Regions from separate parts of the Homo sapiens genome. Here region 2 is linked to region 1. Evidence: promoter capture Hi-C in 16 types of primary human blood cells and fetal thymus (Javierre and others, 2016). All regions are on one chromosome and are shown on one strand. Each heading gives the region's core, a stretch centred on a gene start or on the middle of the fragment in contact. The rest is flanking DNA. Distances are from core to core; before and after follow the strand shown.

Region 1 (4,596 bases), core at 1,010-3,509:
CGATGGCTCACACCTGTAATCCTAGCACTTTGGGAGGCCGAGGCAGGCGGATCACGAGTCAGGAGTTCGAGACCAGCCTGGCCAATACGGTGAAACCCCATCTCTACTAAAAATACAAAAATTAGCCGGGTATGGTGGCGGGTGCCTGTAATCCCAGCTGCTTGGGAGGCTGAGGCAGAAGAATTGCTTGAACCCGGGAGGCAGAGGTTGCAGTGAGCCGAGATCGTGCCACTGCACTCCAGCCTGGGCGACACAGCGAGACTCCATTTCAAAAAAAAAAAAAATTTTTCCTGGCTGACCCAATTTAACAGGGGTTGGTTCTTTCAACATATAAGCAGAAAATGAAGTATACGTATCATCTTCAAAGGACTACCATGAAACCAAAATCGGGTTTTGCAATACCCAACTAAAGCATCAGAAGACAGGGTCATCTTACTTGGAAACTGAGTATTGAAAAAGTACAGGCTAACCCCCTGAATGTTTTTCAGGAAACAGCATTCACACTCTGCTATCCACAATTTTCAAAATCTTCATTAAAGGCCCTGAAAATCCTGTTTGCTAAGCCTGCTGGAATTCTGTGGTTGACAGTCATCTTCCCTCAAAACTTAACTGTCCATATTATCTATTTTCGATTTTATTAGGTCACCTTGAGATTATTCTCTCCTCTGAAAAGCATTTGCGGGCTTTAGTTATCAGTATGTCTCTACCGGTAATTTAAAAATCAATAAAGCTCATACACCTTGCAGCCAACTCATATTTTATAGTGCTTGCTAATATATATATATGTGTGTATATATATATATTTCTCAGGGATCAAAAGGCTAACATGAACTGCTTCAAACTTTGGTGAATCTGCATTATATCCTTAGAACATCCTGAGACTCTCCTGTATTGTGCTGCAGCTATACAGCAGGCGCATGATCACAAGGCTTTTTAACAGCCCCCAGATCCCTTACTGCTGCAAAACTTCTCATAAGCGTTCTATGTACTAGACTGTTAACAGTGCTGAGTTAAAATTGTTAAACTGCTTTACCTATTTATTTACCAATCCTATCATCTCAGGGAATTCAAACTCTTTAAACTGCCTTCTGAAACACATCTAGAGTGCTTTCGTACTGCTTTGAGTAGGATCTGCAGCGGGATAAAAACTTGAGTTCTGAGATTCATCCCGACCCAAATTGCAGTTGCCAGGATATGCGGTAGTAATGCAGTGTTTTTTTTTTTTTTTTGAGACTCTACGGATGTATTTTACCTAGAAATAGCCAATCTCTACTAAATCCCTTTTAGTCTTCGAGATTTCCGCGGTAACAATTTCAACAGAAAGGTATTTTCAACAGCGAAAAAACAAGTTATTCTAATTTGGCCTTTATTTTTTACTCAATAGAGCTTGCCATCGTAAGGGCATTTTTCCATACTAACATTTGCAATTGAAGAAAGAAAAATCAAGCTTTTGGCACTAGTGACCCCATGCGTGGACGGCCTATTATCATCACGCTTCTCACAAATCTTTCGAGATAGGATTTGAGGTTAGGCTCACATCGGATCATAGTCCAGTAACTTACTGCTTTCCAAGCCCAATTAACAGCCTAATAACAGCAACACTTATGCCCCGCGAAATCTCAATGTATGACTAACCAATAAGGCGTCTGATAGCGAAGGCAACCTTTTCCCAGGTAAGGAAGAGGAAAAGCAGACAATGAAAGGAATTGATTTATCACAGTGAAGAAAGAAAAGAGAAGGACCCCAAAAGGATCCGTGAGAGCAAAATCCCGGGGTTCGGAAGCCTTGGCCTCAGCAATACTCTCCCCCAAGCCCTCTCAGCCCAACCCAACCACCCCTCTTGTCCCCTGGGAGCCAGCCCTTCGCCGGCACAGATCGGGCAGACCTGGAGGGCACAGCCCCTCACACGGCGCTCAGGCCCGGTTCCGAAATCCGATGCCAAACAGGCGGAAGCCGCAAGCCCCGCGGCCTGAGTTTCAGGGGTAAGAGAATGCGGGTGCGAGGAGATGCGGCCTCCCTCAAGCCGGGAGGCCTCTTGAGAAAGCAGAGACGGGAGAAGAGCGAGCTGGTTCGCAAGTCGGAGCAAAACTGGAAGGAAAGAGGGCTGGGAGCCGGAGATGAAGGAGGTTCTGGGCTAGACCAGCGCCTTCCCCGCATCCTCGGCGACGCCCGTGTTTACCTGAAAGTCTCGGTCTTCGTTGAAGCGGGAGAAGCGGTCCGCCATTTTGCCGCCTTCACTCCTCTCAGGACGACGCTCTCCGGTTCGCTCCTTCCCTCCTGCGACACCCACCCCTCCCCGGTTCCCCGCCTCCTCCCACGCCCACCGGGCGCGCGCAGCCGAGGGAGGGAGCGAGAATGCGCGTCCTGACGGGAGCCCCGCGGCGCAGGCGCCTGCCAGCCCTGGAGGCTGACCCTTCCCTCTAGCCCCTGCTCCGCGCGCGACCCGGAGCGACCCCGGTGGCCGCGCGTGCGCACTCCCGCCCGAGAGCCGCGAGAGCTTCCGGAGGGAAAGGTCAGAGGGGGCACCGTGCGGACAAATCTGGATGTTTTGCTGTTGCTCACTTCCGGGTGTCTTTTCTCACTGTTGCTTCCCCGTGTGCGCAGAAGTCCATCGTCTTCACTAAATAGCAGCATAATGTTGGGCCGAAAGCGCGACCTTAGAGCCAGACTGCTTAGCTTCGAATCTCAGCTCACCCTGAGGATTCAACGGTGAACGAGACAGGAATGATCTCCTCTTATGGGGATTTCATTCCAGTGGAAGAACTCACATAACTCGTAAAATAAATATTTTTAAATATCAACAAGTGCCACAAAAAAGTAAAACTGGCCACAGTGCTGAGAGGGACAGTCTCTGAAAGGACCTTTGACCGAGGCACAGCGAGGAGCCTACAGCATTGGGGCATAGGGAACGTTAGACCCAAAGGCCCAAAGACTGCAAGGAGCTTGACTTCGAGCCATCCTTTGAGAGAAGTATTTCACAAGGGACCGAAGTTGATCCAGATCGACTAAAGCTCTCTGGGCTTCAGTTTCCTTTTTATACAATAGGGAAATTGGATTCAGTAATCTCTGATGCTCCTGCCTAGCGCTGACTATGAGAGTCAAGAATCGGATTTTTCCATCCCTTCTGAGGACCTCACCCAGTGCTCCAGGACTCTTAGCCAAAATACATAAAACACATAGAAGGGTGGCAGGACTTCTCTCCTTTTGAAAAGAGTAGTTGACAGAAATCACACAATGGAAAAATGGGTCTTACCCTGCCCTGAAAGAGTCAAATGGAATGTAATTTTTTGAGGAAGGGTGTGTATTTTCTAGCTGTTACCCTTTGCCCCACCCATGCTTCAGCCTACGCTTCCATCTAAGGGGAGGCAGGGCACACAGAATTCAAACATTGTATTCTTTTTTTTTTTTTTTTTTTGAGACGGAGTCTCGCACTGTCGCCGGAGTACAGTGGCGCAATCTCGGCTCACTGCAACCTCCGCCTCCCAGGTTCAAGAGATTCTCCTGCCTCAGCCACCCTAGTAGCTGGGATTACAGGCGCCCACCACTAAGCCCAGCTCATTTGTTTTTTTTTTTTTTTGAAAAGGAGTCTCACTCTGTCGCCCAGGCTGGAGTGCAGTGGCGCGATCTCGGCTCACTGCAAGCTCCGCCTTCCGGGTTCACGCCATTCTCCTGCCTCAGCCTCCCGAGTAGCTGGGACTACAGGCGCCCGCCACCAAGCCCGGCTAATTTTTTGTATTTTTAGTAGAGACGGGGTTTCACCGTGTTAGCCAGGCTGGTCTCGATCTCCTGACCTCGTGATCCGCCTGCCTCGGCCTCCCAAAATGCTGGAATTACAGGCGTGAGCCACCTCGCCCGGACTTTTTTTTTTTTTTTTTTTTTTGTATTTTTAGTGGAGGCGGGGTTCACCATGTTGGCAAGGCTGGTCTGGAACTCCTGACCTTGTGATCCGCCCGCCTCAGCCTCCCAAAGTGCTGAGATTACAGGCGTGAGCCACCGAGCCTGGCTCAAACATTGTAAAGAGACTTAAGGGTAGCGTGAAAGATTGAATCACGAGGATACACATCACACTGACCTCTTCTTCCTCTCAAAAGCCCACTGAAATGACAGCAGAGGAATAAGAAGTGCATAAATTCACATGGACAAAGAGACCTGGAGAAGAGACAATGGCAGACAACAGATGTCAACATTTTGGAGGCCAGAGAGCACAGATAAATGGAAATGACTTTAGTAGAGTGGAGAAAAAGAAGTCATAGAGTAGGAGAAGACAGGAAAGAAGTTGATCAATGCTAAAGTGCACCAGAAAGGCTCAGGAAGTAGAAGCCCCTGGTGCCACTGATGATTCGATGTCTCTTTTCCCACCCAGGTAGCAAACTAGAGGTTTTCCCTCTGGAAAGGCTGAACCAGAGAGACTGGACTTTATAGGTGAGAAGGAGCAACCATGCTGAAAATGGGAGGATATGGTAAAGCCTCCATTCTGGCCAGAGAGTCTGACTTCTCCAACAAAAGAACATAGGAACCCTCTCTAGAAAATTGACTAGCTTAGGGAAGAAAATGCTTCATGTACCAACAATGGGAGTGAGGGTAGGGAGGTGTCTT
Region 2 (4,596 bases), core at 730-3,229, 190 kb after region 1:
CGCTGAGTTAGATAGAATGTGACACTAACAGAGTCAGAGGCCAGAGTCAGCCTCCAAAGGCTTGCCTCTTTTTCAAGTCCTCAGTTATTCTTTCTAATCTAGTAGCTGTCTTGCAGGTAGGGCTTGTCAGTTCACAGACCTGGGTGCCATCATGGCTCAAGGATGATAGCTGGTCAGTGCAGAGCCCCCAAACCAGAAAAACATCACAAAATTTTGTTTTTTAGAAATACAGCCTCACAAGAAGTTTCAAAAATAGTACATAGAGTCCTGCACACCTTCACCCAGTTTCCCCCAATAGTAACATCAAACATAAAGACAGTATAATAGTAAATCAGGAAATTGATATAGGTATTATGCAATAAGGTTTTTTTGGTTTTTGTTTTGAGGTGGAGTCTCACGGTTGTCGTCCAGACTGGAGTGCAGTGGTATGATCTCAGCTCACTACAACCTCCGTCTCCTGGGTTCAAGCAATTCTCCTGCCTCACCCTTCCATGTAGCTGGGATTACAGGCACCCAGCACCACACCCGGCTAATTTTTTTCCTATTTTTAGTAGAGATAGGGTTTTGCCATGTTGGCCAAGCTGGTCTCAAACTGCTGATCTCAGGTGATGCACCTGCTTCGGCATCCCAAAGCGCTGGGATTACAGGCATGAGACACTGCTCCTGGCCATAATGCAATAAGGTTTTTTGAAAGCATCAACAAGCTTCTCAAAAACTGAATCAAGGTTCTCCAGACCCTAAATTTTAAGAATATCCTCAATGGCTATTTTACTACAAAAGTAACATAGCTCATGCTTTAAAAAATATTATATAAGGCCAAGCACGGTGGCTCACGCCTGTAATCCCAGCACTTTGGAAGGCCAACGCGGGTAGATCAACTGAGGTCGGGAGTTCGAGACCAGCCTGGCCAACTGGTGAAACCCCATCTCTACTAAAAAAATACAAAAAAATGGCCCTGCGCGGTGGCTCACACCTGTAATCCCAGCACTTTGGGAGGCCGAGGCGGGCAGATCACGAGGTCAGGAGATCGAGACCATCCTGGATAATAGGTGAAACCCCGTCTCTACTAAAAATACAAAAAAAAATTAACTGGGTGTGGTTGCGGGCGCCTATAGTCCCAGCTACTAGGGAGGCTGAAGCAGGAGAATGGCGCGAATCCGGGAGGCAGAGCTTGCAGTGAGCCGAGATCTGACCACTGCTCTCCAGCCTGGGCAACAGAGTGAGACTCCATCTCAAAAAAAAACAAAAAAAACAAAAAAATTAGCCAGCTATGGTGGTAGGCGCATGTAATCCCAGTTACTTGGGAGGCTGAGGCAGGAGAATTGCTTGAAACCAGGAGGCGGAGGTTACAGTGAGCTGAGATTACGCCATTGTACTCCAACCTGGGCAACAAGGGCAAAACTCTGTCTCAACAAAAAAAAAGAAAAAATTATATAAATGGATAAGCGACAAATTGAAAGCTTACAAAAAATAAAATACGCAAATTAAGATTGCAGTGAAATACCACGTCCGCTTTTCAGATCAAAAAAGTCTGATAATATGCTGTATTGAACTGTGCTTGGGTAAAAGACATTGGAAAATGTTAGAGCAGAAAGTAAATGGATCTGGTCTTGTTGGAGGACTGTTTGTTTGAAAAGACCCAGCATTTCTGCTTCTGGGAATTTGTTCATAAGTTATTCATTTATTTTTATCTTTACTTGTGGTAAAATACACAATTTGCCATCTTAACTATTTTTAAGTATACGATTTAATAGTGTTAAGTATTAATTATTTTTAAAATTTTTGGTTTAAACTGGGCGTGGTGCCTGTTTAAACTGGGCGTGGTTTAAACTGGGCGTGGTTGGCTGGGCGCGGTGGCTCACGCCTGTAATCCCCGCACTTAGGGAGGCCAAGGTGGGTGGATCACTGAGGTCAGGAGTTCAAGACCAGTCTAGCCAACATGGCAAAACCCTGTCTCTACTAAAAATATAAAAATTAGCCAGGTGTGGTAATGCATGCCTATAGTCCCAGCTACTTGGCCACTTGAGAAGCTGAGGCAGGAGATTCACTCGAATTCGGGACACGGAGGTTGCAGTGAGTTGAGATAATGCCACTGCATTCCAGCCTGGGCAACAGAGTGAGACTCTGTCTCAAAAAAAGAAAAAAATTTTGATTTAATATTTTGTATAATGGCCAGGCACACTGGCTTACACCTGTAATCCCAGTACTTTGGGAGGCTGACAAGGGAGGATTGCTTGAGGCCAGGAGTTCGAGACTAACCTGGTCAACATAATGAGACCCCAGCTCTACAAAAAAAAAAAGTGGTGGTGCATGTCTTTTGTCCTACCTACTCAGGAGGTTGAGGCAAGAGGATCACTTGAGCCCAGGAGCTCAAATTTACATGAGCTATGATGATGCCACTGCATTCTAGCCTGAACAACAGAACAAAACTCTGTCTTTAAAAAATAAAACTGTGCATTTGTGTAGAATCACATTTTTCTAAGGATATTCATTGTAGTGAAGCTTTTTGTAGTAAAAGAATAGTCTACATTTTATGTATATGAGACTGGTTCAAAAACTCTGGTAGCCACACAAAGAAGTATTGCACAGCTGTAAAAAAAAAAAAAAAAATGAACAAAGAGGCCGGGCGCGGTGGCTGGTGCCTGTAGTCCCAGCACTTTGGGAGGCCAAAGCAGGTGGATCACCTGAGGTCAAGAGTTCGAGACCAGCCTGGCCAACTAAAAATACAAAAATTAGCTGGGCATGGTGGTAAGCACCTGTAATCCCAGCTACTCGGGAGGCTGAGGCAGGAGAATCGCTTGAATCCAGGAGGCAGAGGTTGCAGTGAGAGGAGATCATGCCATTGCTCTCCAGCCTGGGCTACAGAGCAAGACTCCGTCTCGAAAAAAAAAAAAAAAAAAGAACAAAGAAGCTCTTTATGCACTGACATGTATCAAAGTTCGAGATACATTGTTTAAAAAGTACAGATCAACAATATGTAATGCTTGCCACCATCACTATTTAAAAAGAAGTTAGGGTAGGGGAATACATGTACATATGTGTCCTTGTATGTGCATAGGCTATCTCTGGAAAGATACACCAGGGATATGTGAGAATGGTTGTCCACTGAGGAGGAGAACTGAAGGAGACTGGTTTTGAACTGTTATATTTATTTACTTTGTATCTTTTTGTAAAAGAAAGCAAATTTGAAGCCCTTTCTCCAACCTCATTTTCTCCCCTCTCTCCCCAGATGTAACCACTATTCCTGAATTTGGTGTTTATTTTCTTCTTGAATGTTTTTAAACATAGTACACATTGCTACATATATAATACATATTACAACATATGGATGTATCCATAATATATCACATTGGTGTGCATGCTGTACTTTTCATTCTGCAATGTGCTTTTTCACTCAAGGTTGTTTAAAATATTTACCCATGTTGGGCCGGGCGCAGTCGCTCATGCCTGTAATCCCAGCACTTTGGGAGGCCTAGGCGGGTGGATCAGCTGAGGTCAAGAGTTTGAGACAAGCCTCACCAACATGGTGAAACCCCATCTCTACTAAAGCTACAAAAATTAACTGGGCGTGGTCACGCACGCCTGTAATCCCAGCTACTTAGGAGGCTGAGGCAGGAGAATAGCTTGAACCTGGGAGGCGGAGGTTGCAGTGAGCCAAGACTGCGCCACTGCACTCCAGCCTAGGTGACAGAGCAAGACCCTGTCTCAAAAAATATATACGTGTATATGGCCGGGCACGGTGGCTCATGCCTGTAATCCCAGCACTTTGGGAGGCCAAGGCGGGCGGATCACCTGAGGTCAGGGGTTCGGGACAAGCCTGACCAACATGGAGAAACCCCATCTCTACTAAAAATGCAAAATTAGCCAGGTTTGGTGGCACATGCCTGTAATCCCAGCTACTTGGGAGGCTGAGACAGGAGAATCGCTTGAACCCGGGAGGCGGAGGTTGCGGTTAGCCGAGATCGCGCCATTGCACTCCAGCCTGGGCAACAAAAGCGAAACCCCATCTCAAAAAAAAAAAGAAAAAAATATATATAATATATATGTATCTATATATATTTTATATATATCTTTACCCATGTTGATATATGTAGCTCTTATCCATCCATTTAAATCACTGCATAGTATTCCGTTGCTTTAATATGCTCCAGCTGATCCATTCCTCTGCCGATGGATGGTGAGGTTAGTTCCTAGTTTTCCAGTCAGTGCACCAGTTCACATTCTTAGGTGGTCCCCTTGCCCACCATGGGAAAGTTCCTCTAGATCAGTGAGCATCAGACATTTTTGCCACATACTCTTAGCAGTAAAAATATTCTCAGCATGTACACCTAATGCACTAATATGTAGTTATTTATGAATTATTTGTGTGAACTGCTATATCAAATTAGTATGTCCATCATAAAACATACAAAAAGAGAACTACAAAAAGGAGAAAATCGTTAAAAAATGAAGTAGGCCGGGCGTGATGGCTCACACCTGTAATCCCAACACTTTGAGAGGCCGAGGTGGGTGGATCACTTGAGGTCAGGGGTTCAAGACCAGCCTGGCCAACATGGTGAAACCGGGTCTGTACTAAAAATACAAAAATTAGCCGAG

What was found. The method cuts DNA at HindIII sites, captures the fragments that hold promoters and counts their contacts. A CHiCAGO score of 5 or more calls a contact.
Region 2: a contact is called between a fragment that was not itself captured here and the fragment with the promoter of GPATCH8 in region 1, in 1 of 17 cell types (megakaryocytes). The highest score is 5.3, in megakaryocytes.

The regions. Positions count from the first base shown.
Region 1 is chr17:44,501,147-44,505,742 of GRCh38, forward strand. It overlaps GPATCH8 (G-patch domain containing 8), which reads right to left and starts at 2,260. Exons shown (of 8, transcript NM_001002909.4): 1 at 2,180-2,260. The coding sequence starts at 2,224. RefSeq lists an enhancer at 1,994-2,093 and a silencer at 2,194-2,543. The HindIII fragment of the contact is 9,778 bases long and covers 1,446-4,596 here.
Region 2 is chr17:44,691,928-44,696,523 of GRCh38, forward strand. No RefSeq gene overlaps it. Among named protein-coding and RNA genes, the nearest start is that of CCDC43, 4.4 kb to the left of the region's middle. The HindIII fragment of the contact is 1,042 bases long and covers 1,459-2,500 here.